3 separate regions of the Homo sapiens genome follow, and regions 2 and 3 are each linked to region 1. Evidence: promoter capture Hi-C in human tissues and cell types (Jung and others, 2019). All regions are on one chromosome and are shown on one strand. The core of a region is centred on a gene start or on the middle of the fragment in contact, and the rest is flanking DNA. Distances in the headings are between cores, read along the strand shown. Region 1 holds the start of ZDHHC18 (zDHHC palmitoyltransferase 18). Region 2 holds the start of SLC9A1 (solute carrier family 9 member A1). Region 3 overlaps RPS6KA1 (ribosomal protein S6 kinase A1).

Region 1 (3,266 bases), core at 483-2,982:
GTGGTTTGCTCAAGATGGGGCTCATCATATTGAGAGCCTTTGGCACCAAAGGCACGGCTGAGCAGCCTTTGGCATATATATCAATTATTGATCCTTAAGGTCACTGTTGTCGGCTTCCTACTCCTCCCCATTGTATATTTTTACTTCCTTTTTTACTTTCTCCTAGTCTCCAGTTCTTTTTTTCCTTGCACTTTTCCTTAGGTTTTACAGTAACCACAGTGTGACAGACATACCCTAAGCTGACCCCCAATGATTCCTGCCTCCTGGTATTTACGCCTTGTGTGATTCCCTTTTCTTGAGTGCAGATGGCTCCTGTGCTTTGCTTTTAACCATAGGAGATGGCAATGATGATGGGATGCCACTCTGTCACATATATAGTAAGTTATATAAAACTCTATCATCATAGTCTGGAGCTAGAGACCCTCATTGTCAGTTTCAAGAAACTAAGTGGCTATGTAGGAGAAACCTGCATGGCAAGGAAATGTGATAATCTCTAGGAACTGCAGGTGGCTTTTGGATCCTGAGAGAGGCCTCCAGCAGACACCCAGCAAAAATCCCAGGCCCTCCTCAGTTATACAGTCACCCAGCAAAAATCCCAGGCCCTCTTCAGTTAAACAGTCGCAAGGAAGTTAATTCTGCCAATAACCCAAATGGGCTTGCAAGTGGATTCTTCCCTGGCTGAGTCTCCAGATGAGAATGCAGCCTGATTGCAGCCTTGTGAGACTAAGCAGAGGACCCAGCTAAGCTGTTCTCTGGCTCCTGACCTGGAACCTGTTAGATAACGTTTGTTTTTTGTTTTTTTTGAGACGGAGTCTTGCTCTGTCACCAGGCCGGGTGCAATGGCACAATCTCGGCTCACTGCAACCTCCACCTCCTGGGTTCAAGCAATTCTCCTGCCTCAGCCTCCCGAGTAGCTGGGACTATAGATGCCGTGCCACCATGCCCAGCTAATTTTTTATTTTTAGTAGAGACGGGGTTTCACCATATTGGCCAGGATGGTCTCTCTCGACCTTGTGATCCACCCACCTCGGCCTCCCAAAGTGCTGGGATTACAGGCGTGAGACACCGCGCCCGGCCGATAATGTTTGTTTTAAGCCTTAAATTTGTGGTAACTTGTTACACAGCAGTAGAAAATGAATACTCCCAGAATTCCTGAAAAAACACTGGGGCCCTCAGGCATGACCCCTCTACATTATGTGCTACCTAGGAAAATCTGGGCCTGGGCCCAGGACACAGAACTTGGTGAACGAGGCCAGAGGGTGTGCCACACACCTCCAGTGGGCACTCTGGACTTCAAGGTAGAAGAGGTCCTGGCTTTCAAAGCAAATCGTGTGCCCCACCTCCCCGCGCCTGCCTGCCTCTGCAAATGCCTGTCAGTTCGACCCTCAGAGATGGGCGAAGCCTGGGGAATTACAGACTGCCAGAAGTAGATCACGAAGTCCACCACCTGAATCTCGGCGTTTGGCACCGTGCCTGGTACACAGTGGACGCCCAACAAACGGCTTGCTTGCAGAACAGAAAGAGCCCTCGAGTGCGCGTCTGCTGGCCCCCTCTTTGTGCAGAAGGGAAAAGGGAGACTGGGAGGGCCGGGGACCTGCGGGGCCCCGCCGCGGGTCAGAGCTGGGCCTCCGGCCAAGCGCCATCCCGGGCCCAGGCGGAGGGGGCGCTGCGGCGGGAGGCCGCGGCGGGCGGTGGCGGCGGGCCGGGGGCGGAGCGATGGCGGGGCCGCCCCAGTGAGTGAGCGAGCGAGCGCCGCGCGCGCCGCCGCTGCCACCTCCGCTGCTCGGCCCGGTCCCGGAGTGGCCCGGCCGGCCCGCGGGGCGCGGAGCCGAGGCCCGCGGCTGGCTGCATGAAGGACTGCGAGTACCAGCAGATCAGCCCCGGGGCCGCCCCGCTGCCCGCCTCCCCGGGGGCGCGCCGTCCCGGCCCCGCCGCGTCCCCGACTCCGGGCCCCGGGCCCGCGCCGCCCGCCGCCCCCGCCCCGCCGCGCTGGAGCAGCAGCGGCAGCGGCAGCGGCAGCGGGAGCGGGAGCCTCGGCCGCCGCCCACGGCGCAAGTGGGAGGTGTTCCCGGGTCGCAATCGCTTCTACTGCGGCGGCCGCCTCATGCTGGCCGGCCACGGCGGCGTCTTCGCGCTCACGCTGCTGCTCATCCTCACCACCACCGGCCTCTTCTTCGTCTTTGAGTGAGTTCCGCTGCCTCGGCGCCCCCTCCCAGCCCCCTGCCGCGCACCCCACCTTCCCAATCCCTGCTGGGCACTCCGTGCCTTCCCCTTCGCCTCCCTGGTCCTCATCCTCCCCGCCCCTTTGGGATCCTCCTCGGGCCTCTTGTCTGCCCCCCTGGCCCCTGCGCACCCCCATCCCCGCCAGATGCCCCATCCTCCTTGGTCCATTTGGGTACCCCATCCGCGCTGGTGCCCTCCACCCTCCCAGCCCCTCCATTCTCCCTGACCCCACCCTGGCACCTGTCTGCCTGCCACTGCCAGGAACACCAGCCTCCATGCCCCTCCACGGCCCCCATCCTCGCTGCCCTCTCAGAACCTGCCCCAGGGCTTCTTGAACAGGCCCCTCCTGCTCACCCATCCCTGGACCATCTCTTGCCAACCCCCCAAGTTCTTTCTGACCCTTGTATCCCTTCCTGACCACTTCTAGATCTTGTGTGTCCTTTGGCTGTGCACACCCACCATAAACATCCTAGTCATCCTCGCTGCCCTCTCCGGGTCCCTCCAGGGTCCCCTCCTTTTCTCTAGTCTCAGACACCAACCCCGCTTTTGCTTCCCCTCAGCCACGCACACCCTAGGCCCCAAGGCATCTTTTCTCAAAATCTTTGGGCCTCTCGGGCCCCCTTTCCTTCTCCAGAACCTTCCTTAGGTTCTCCAGAGCTTCCTGTCCTTCCCTCAGATCCCGCCCGCCTCCACCCAGCCGGCTCCCAGGCCCCTGGCCCCCCTGCTGACCACCTGGCTTTCTTTCCCTGCTCAACATTCTGGAACGTCCCTCTGGCCTGTTCCACATCAGCAACAGCTGCGGTGCCTTGTTGTTTTTCAGGAAAGACTTCGGAGTGCTTTCGTGTGACAGGTCATATTTGCCCCCCTAGGTTTTTGTCCTCTTCATATCCCCCGGTGACCCAGGATTGGCCCACACATAATCTCCATTTTATGGATGGAGGGTCATATATTTGTATTAGAAGTTTTCCACCCACCTCTGAGCCACCTGCACTGTGATTCCTTGCACACACACTCACACGCCCACCCACCCACCCTTGCTTCAT
Region 2 (3,266 bases), core at 554-3,053, 330 kb after region 1:
TTGTCCCACAGATTCTATAAAGTATGGCATTCCTGGGCCGGAAATTGACTCAGGGGCTCCTAACTAGCCTGGACAAGCAAAGCTGACAGATAACATTCTGGAGATGAAGGAAAGGTGGGAATATGGGGATCCCCTGTGTTCCACCACACTTGTAAGTTTCCTGTGCCCAGGTCTCCACTATGCTTAAACTCCTCAAGCAGGCCAAGTAGAAATATACTCCATCCTGGAACACGCTCCAGTGAAGCCTGTCATAAATTGCACTGGTTGCTGTTGACAGAGCAGAATGTGCCACTCGCCAGAAGACACTCCTTTCTGTCTCACACACAGCGGGGTGCCTGGCTCCCCTGGGGGTCTGGCCCAGCCAGAGGAGACTTGCCAGTCGTGGAAGCCTTACTGAAGGGACCTAGGATCAGAGGCATCCCATTCTCTAATCCTGCTCTCTTCTGTGCACAGTGCTGGCTCCAATCTTGGGAAGCCTCAGATCACAGATCAGAAGCCACAGAACTGGAGCCTGAGAAGGACCAAGGTGGCAGGATGGAGACTGCCTACTTTATGGGGGTAGTTCAGATCCTTACTCCTGGACAGCCTCAAATGGTGCGAGATGAGGCAAGAAGCTCACCAGTCTGGTGGCGGCCGCAGCATCGGAGCAAACGGGACTTACCTATCTTCATGAGGCAGGCCAGAAGGATCCAGAGGGAGATCTCGAAGGGGGTGCGCACGTGTGTGTAGTCGATGCCCAGGACTGGAAAGGCCTTGCGCGGCTTCATGCCATGATCAGTGACGGAATGATTAACAGGGCGGCTCTCTGGGGTGACCTCCGGTGGAGCGGTGGTGACATCCCCAATCGAGCGTTCTCGTGGTGGCTCTGAGCTTCGAATGGTGCTGGCAGTTGGGCTGAGCTGGAGGCCATGGCTCCTGAGAACAGGCAGCAGCCCCACCAAAGCAACCACCACGAGTAAGGAAGGGAAGATCCGATGTGGAGAGAGGCCACAGATGCCAGACCGCAGAACCATGGTGCTGCTTCCAGAGCCAGCCTCGACCTTACCCAAATGAGAGTAAAACCGGGCACATAGGTAGCAAAGGGTCAGCAAGTGGGAAGAGAGACTGGCGTAGTCTCTAGGAAAAGTTCATGTTTTAGAGAGGCATTTCCATGGAAGCAATTTTCTGGGGGTGGAGGGAGGCTGGGTTTGCAATCTGGAACTCCAAAGTGGGGAAAGGGGGCAAGGACCCAGGAACGACCACGAAAGGAGACCAAAAGGTCTGGAACTCCGGGCCTGGGAAGGGGGAGGACGGATGTGGGAAACTGAGCCCTAGGGATAGAGGAAGGGGCAGGATAGGGATAGTGCAAAGGAAAGGAAGAAGGAAGGCTGGGACCTTTGGCTGAGGAAAGTGACTGAGGAGCTGGGACTCTGGGCTGTGGGCTAAAGGAAGGGGTAGGGAGCCTGAGCTAAAGGAAGGGGACCGAAGGGGGTGAGAGCCAGTCCAGGAAAAGGAGAGAGGGGGCTGGGAGCCCAGGCTGAGAAGGAGTGAAACCGGGAAGCGGCCGGGAGCTTCTCCACCCAGAGAGGGGCAGGGGTCCAGGCGCGCCGGGCTGAGATTCCGGGGAAATGGAAAGAGGCGGAAGGCAGGCGGCCTGGCGGGAAGGCGCCTCGGCGCGGGCTGGGGGCGGCTCGCGGTGGGCCAGCAGCAACACGCCCCTCCTCGCGGCCCTGGCGCGACGCGGCGCTCCGCCCCGGCCCAGCTGCAGCTCCTCCTGGTCCAGCTCCAGAACTAACCCTAGCCCCGGCCCCGGCGGCAGCAGACTGAAGCCTAGCTGAGCCCGGCGCTGTCACTTATAGGCACCAGCGAGCAGCCGGTGCGGCGGGCTAGAGAGACCGTCGGCACCCGCCCAGCGCAGCGGCCCCTGTCGCCGAGGGAAAGAAGTATCGCGTAGGAAGAGGAAGGAGAGTCAGAGATGACAAAAAAAAAAAAAAAAAAAAGTCCTGAATATACAGAGAACCTCACTAACGCGAGTAAAATGCCGACTACTTACAAAACGATTTCACGTCCACATCTGCAGTCTCATAAGGGCTTTCGAATAATCCTGTGAAGAATGTATTATTAGTTTATGTATTTAGTTACCGTGTGACCTTGAGCAAGTTACTTAACCTGTTTCACAACTTTCTCATCTGTTAAGTAGAGACAGTAATAGTGACTATGTCAGAGGGATGATGTAATGACTGAGACAATCCGTGTAAACTATTTGGAATGCACCCTGGCACATTATTACAATTCCACTTTTACAGATGAGGAAACAGGTGAAGAGAGTCCCCTGGCTACTATGCAAGTAGTTGTATTGCTTACTAGGGCTGCCGTAACAAAGTATCACCCCAAACTGGGTGGCTGCAACAACAGAAATTGATTGTCTCACAGTTCTGGAGGCTGGAGGTCGGATCTAGGTGTTGGCAGGGTTGGTTTCAGCTGAGAGCTATGAGGGAGAATCTGTCCCATGCCTTTCTCCTACCTTCCAGTGGTTTGTTAGGACTATCTGGTATTCCATGGAGTTCTCCTGGTGTCTCTGTCTCTGCGTCCAGATTCCCCGCCCACACTTTATTTTTATTTTTATTTTTTTTGAGATAGAGTCTGGCTCTTGTTGCCCAGGCTGGAGTGCGGTGGCGCCATCTCAGCTCAATGCAACCTCTGCCTCCTGGATTCAAGCGATTCTCCTGCCTCAGCCTCCAGAGTAGCTGGGATTACTGGCACCCACCACCACGTCCAGCTAATTTTTGTATTTTTAGTAGAGATGGGGTTTCACCATGTTGGTCAGGCTGGTCTCGAACTCCTGACCTCAGGTGATCCACCCGCCTCGGCCTCCCAAAGTGCTGGGATTACAGGGGTAAGCCACAACCCCCAGCCAGATTTCCCCTTTTTATAAGGACACCAGTCATTGGATTAGAAATCCAACGTAATTACCTCATCTTAACCTGAACATCTTCAAAGACTGCATCCTAATTAGTCCATCTTCATAGGCACTGGGCATTAGGACTTCAACTTCTTTTGCCGGGACACAATTCAACCCACAACAGTGGCATGCTTTAAGTAGTGGAACTTAAATTTGAACCTATAGTTTGGTTGAAATTGGTGAGGTTCAAGGGATCATGGCTGTACAATGGAATCACTGGAAAGCTTTTTTAAAATACCATTGTCTAGGCCGGGCGTAGTGGCTGACGCCTGTAATCCCAGCACTTTGGGAGGCCGAGGCGGGCGGATCACGAGGTCAGGAGATC
Region 3 (3,266 bases), core at 346-2,845, 260 kb before region 1:
GTCTCTACTGAGCCAAGACCTTAGGTCCTGGGGGATGACCCCTAGCACTCTAGAGCCAGGGGTCAGCCACAATTTTTGGTCTCCTACAGCAACTCCATGGGAAGAACCTGGTTTTTAGTGACGGCTACGTGGTAAAGGAGACAATTGGTGTGGGCTCCTACTCTGAGTGCAAGCGCTGTGTCCACAAGGCCACCAACATGGAGTATGCTGTCAAGGTGGGCCTCCTGACCACGTCTCGGCCAAGGCTGCTGGGTTGGGGGCAGGTCCCCGTCTGGTGGGGAGGGATGGTGCCTGAGCTCTGCAGATGTATGAAAGGTGTGTGGCCGAGACCTCCTGGCCTGCTCCATGGCCAGAAAGGACCCTGGACCCTGTCACCCTGACACTGCCACATGCACCCCCTTTCTTCAGGTCATTGATAAGAGCAAGCGGGATCCTTCAGAAGAGATTGAGATTCTTCTGCGGTATGGCCAGCACCCCAACATCATCACTCTGAAAGATGTGAGTGGGGGTCCTTAAGACTGGGGTGGGGACCAGGAACTCAACTCTCAGGATTTGTCTCAGGATTGCCATTCCTTTGACTTCTCATCCTCTTTCCAGTGGTCATGTGGAGGGGAAGGAGGTCCCTTGGTCCCTTCAGTCTGCCCATACCCCAAGGGCCCTCCTTCAGACTCAGACATTTTCTGAGGACCTTCTTGCGTATCAGGAGACCAGTGTCAGCATCCTCCTTTTGGGGAAGGCAGGACCACTGAAGAGCAAGCAGAACACCTGCCCAAGGCTCATGTCATTCTTCCCTGCTCTGGGGCGCTGCTGACCAGGGGGCTCAGGCCTGACACTGGGGAGAAGAGCCTGATGGTGAGGTCTTCGGCAGGTGTATGATGATGGCAAACACGTGTACCTGGTGACAGAGCTGATGCGGGGTGGGGAGCTGCTGGACAAGATCCTGCGGCAGAAGTTCTTCTCAGAGCGGGAGGCCAGCTTTGTCCTGCACACCATTGGCAAAACTGTGGAGTATCTGCACTCACAGGGGGTGAGTCTGGATTCGGGGAGGCAGTAGGGGGATGCCAAGGGTCATATCATCAGCAGAGAACATGAACCACCTGCTGGCCCAGGAATGGCAGCCTCCAGCTAGCCAAACTGAGGGGACACTAGGGCTGGGTGGGTGGATGCGTGCAAAGGAAGGAGGGAGAGATGTGGCCAATTGTGAAAGGGAAGGTATGGAAAGTTATTCAGTATCTACTGTGTGCCAGGCACCATGGTAAGGTTTAGCATAAGATGAAGTTTCCAGACCAGGCATGGTAGCTCACGCCTGTAATCCCAGCAACTTGGGAGGGCAACGCAGGTGGATCACTTGAGGTCAGGAGTTTGACACCAGCCTGGCCAACATGGTGAAACCCCATCTCTACTAAAATACAAAAAAATTAGCCGGGTGTGGTGGGGGGCATCTGTAATCTCAGCTACTTGGGAGGCTGAGGCAGAAGAGTGGCTTGAACCCGGGAGGCGGAGGTTGCAGTGAGCCAAGATCACACCATTGCACTACAGCCTGGGCAACAGAGCGAAACTCCATCTAATAAATAAATACATAAATAAGATTTACATTATCTCAATTGATTTTCACAACAACTCTGAGATAGATGCTGTTACTGGCCCCACTTCACAGGTAAGAAGACCGGAGCTCAGAGATGAAAGTTCATTTGCTAAATATCACATAGCCCGGGAAGAATGGAAGAATTTCAGACTGAAGAATTTAGGTGGGGAGTGGCTTTTGAGTTAGGAAGTGGCAGGGTCACCGTGGGGGAGCTGCAAGGCTTCAGGGAGGTGAATTTGACTGGGTTCAGTTGCTAAGGCAGAGGAAATGGATGCAGGAGGAAATTCTGCTGGAAACGTAGCAGGGACTGCAGAAGAGGTATAGGTCCAAATGGCAGGGTCTGGCCTTTATTACTGCACAAGGCAGGTGAGCACTAGATGACGGTGAGGTAGGAAAGTTCATTACAGTGGATTAAAGCCCAAAACAGTAGCATTAGCTTCTCTCTGCATGAGATAATGTTTTAGGGTGCATCTGATCAGACAACATGGGGGTTAAGAATGCAGGCTATGAATCCACCTGGCTGAGTCCAGGTCTTGGTGTATGAGGTTGTTAACTTGTTTTCACATAGTACCCAGTCCATAGACACATTTTTCTCCTATTGTCCTTTTTTTTTTTTTTTTTTTTTTTTTTTGGAGATAGAGTCTTGCTCCTGTCGCCCAGGCTGGAGTGCAGTGGCACGATCTTGGCTCACTGCAACCTCTGCCTCCCGGGTTCAAGTGACTCTCCTGCCTCAGCCTCCCAAGTAGCTGGGATTAGAGGCGCCTGTCACCATGCCTGGCTAATTTTTTTGTATTTTTAGTAGAGATGGGGTTTCACCATGTTGGCCAGGCTGGTCTCAAACTCCTGACCTCAGGTGATCTGCCCGCCTCGGCCTCCCAAAGTGCTGGGATTACAGGTGTGAGCCACCACACCCGGCCCCCATTGTCCTTTCAAAAATGTCTTTTTTGACTGGTTTATTGAAATTAGAATACCTGTAAGTTCCACACATTTCATTCAGTTGGTAAATCTCTCCCCCTTTTTTTTGAGACAGGGTCTCACTCTGTTGCCCAGGCTGGAATGCAGTGACACAATTGCAGTTCACTGCAGCCTTGACCTCCTTGCGCTCAAATGATCCTCCCACTTCAGCCTCCCAAATAGCGGGGACCACAGGCACGCACCACCACACCTGGCTAATTTTGTATTTTTTGTAGAGATGGGGTTTTGGCTTGTTGCCCAGGCTGGTCTTGAACTCTTGAGCTCAAGTGATTTGCCCACCTTGGCCTCCCAAAGTGCTGGGATTACAGGCGTAAGCCACCTTACCCAGCCTCTTTTCTTCTTTTTTAAAACTGGAGGAAAATTTGCATACAGTAGATTTCAAGGGTACATTCTGATGAATTTTGTTAAATGTGTACACCCATGTCGCCTCCACAATTAGACCTCCCTTTTTTATGCCACCGACATATTGTATATGAGTTCTGTGGAATGTCTCACATTCTGAATTTGTCTGTCGGCTGCCTCCTGGATCATTTACATTATTTCTCCATTGTCTATATTTCCTGTAAACTGCAAGTTGCTCTAACATCATTATTAGCTTCAGTTTTTTGGGGGGGATGGGAATGAGGTTCAGATGGCTAAGGTTGGGCTGAGCATGGTGGCTTATGCCTGTAATCCCAGCACTTTGGGAAGCCAAGATGGGCAGATC

What was found. Contacts are between HindIII fragments. The study calls those that stand out against the background at their distance.
Region 2: the fragment with the promoter of SLC9A1 here is called in contact with the fragment with the promoter of ZDHHC18 in region 1 in 1 of the 25 tissues and cell types used here (adrenal gland).
Region 3: a fragment that was not itself captured here is called in contact with the fragment with the promoter of ZDHHC18 in region 1 in 1 of the 25 tissues and cell types used here (spleen).

The regions. Positions count from the first base shown.
Region 1 is chr1:26,824,956-26,828,221 of GRCh38, forward strand. It overlaps ZDHHC18 (zDHHC palmitoyltransferase 18), which reads left to right and starts at 1,733. Exons shown (of 8, transcript NM_032283.3): 1 at 1,733-2,184. The coding sequence starts at 1,850. RefSeq lists silencers at 1,515-1,667, 1,631-1,780, 1,791-2,000. The HindIII fragment of the contact is 18,291 bases long and covers 1-3,266 here.
Region 2 is chr1:27,153,322-27,156,587 of GRCh38, forward strand. It overlaps SLC9A1 (solute carrier family 9 member A1), which reads right to left and starts at 1,804. Exons shown (of 12, transcript NM_003047.5): 1 at 662-1,804. The coding sequence starts at 1,013. RefSeq lists a silencer at 1,524-1,753 and an enhancer at 2,699-3,198. The HindIII fragment of the contact is 28,159 bases long and covers 1-3,266 here.
Region 3 is chr1:26,560,637-26,563,902 of GRCh38, forward strand. It overlaps RPS6KA1 (ribosomal protein S6 kinase A1), which reads left to right. Exons shown (of 22, transcript NM_002953.4): 15 at 90-215; 16 at 409-498; 17 at 869-1,027. Among named protein-coding and RNA genes, the nearest start is that of MIR1976, 7.7 kb to the left of the region's middle. The HindIII fragment of the contact is 8,603 bases long and covers 1-3,266 here.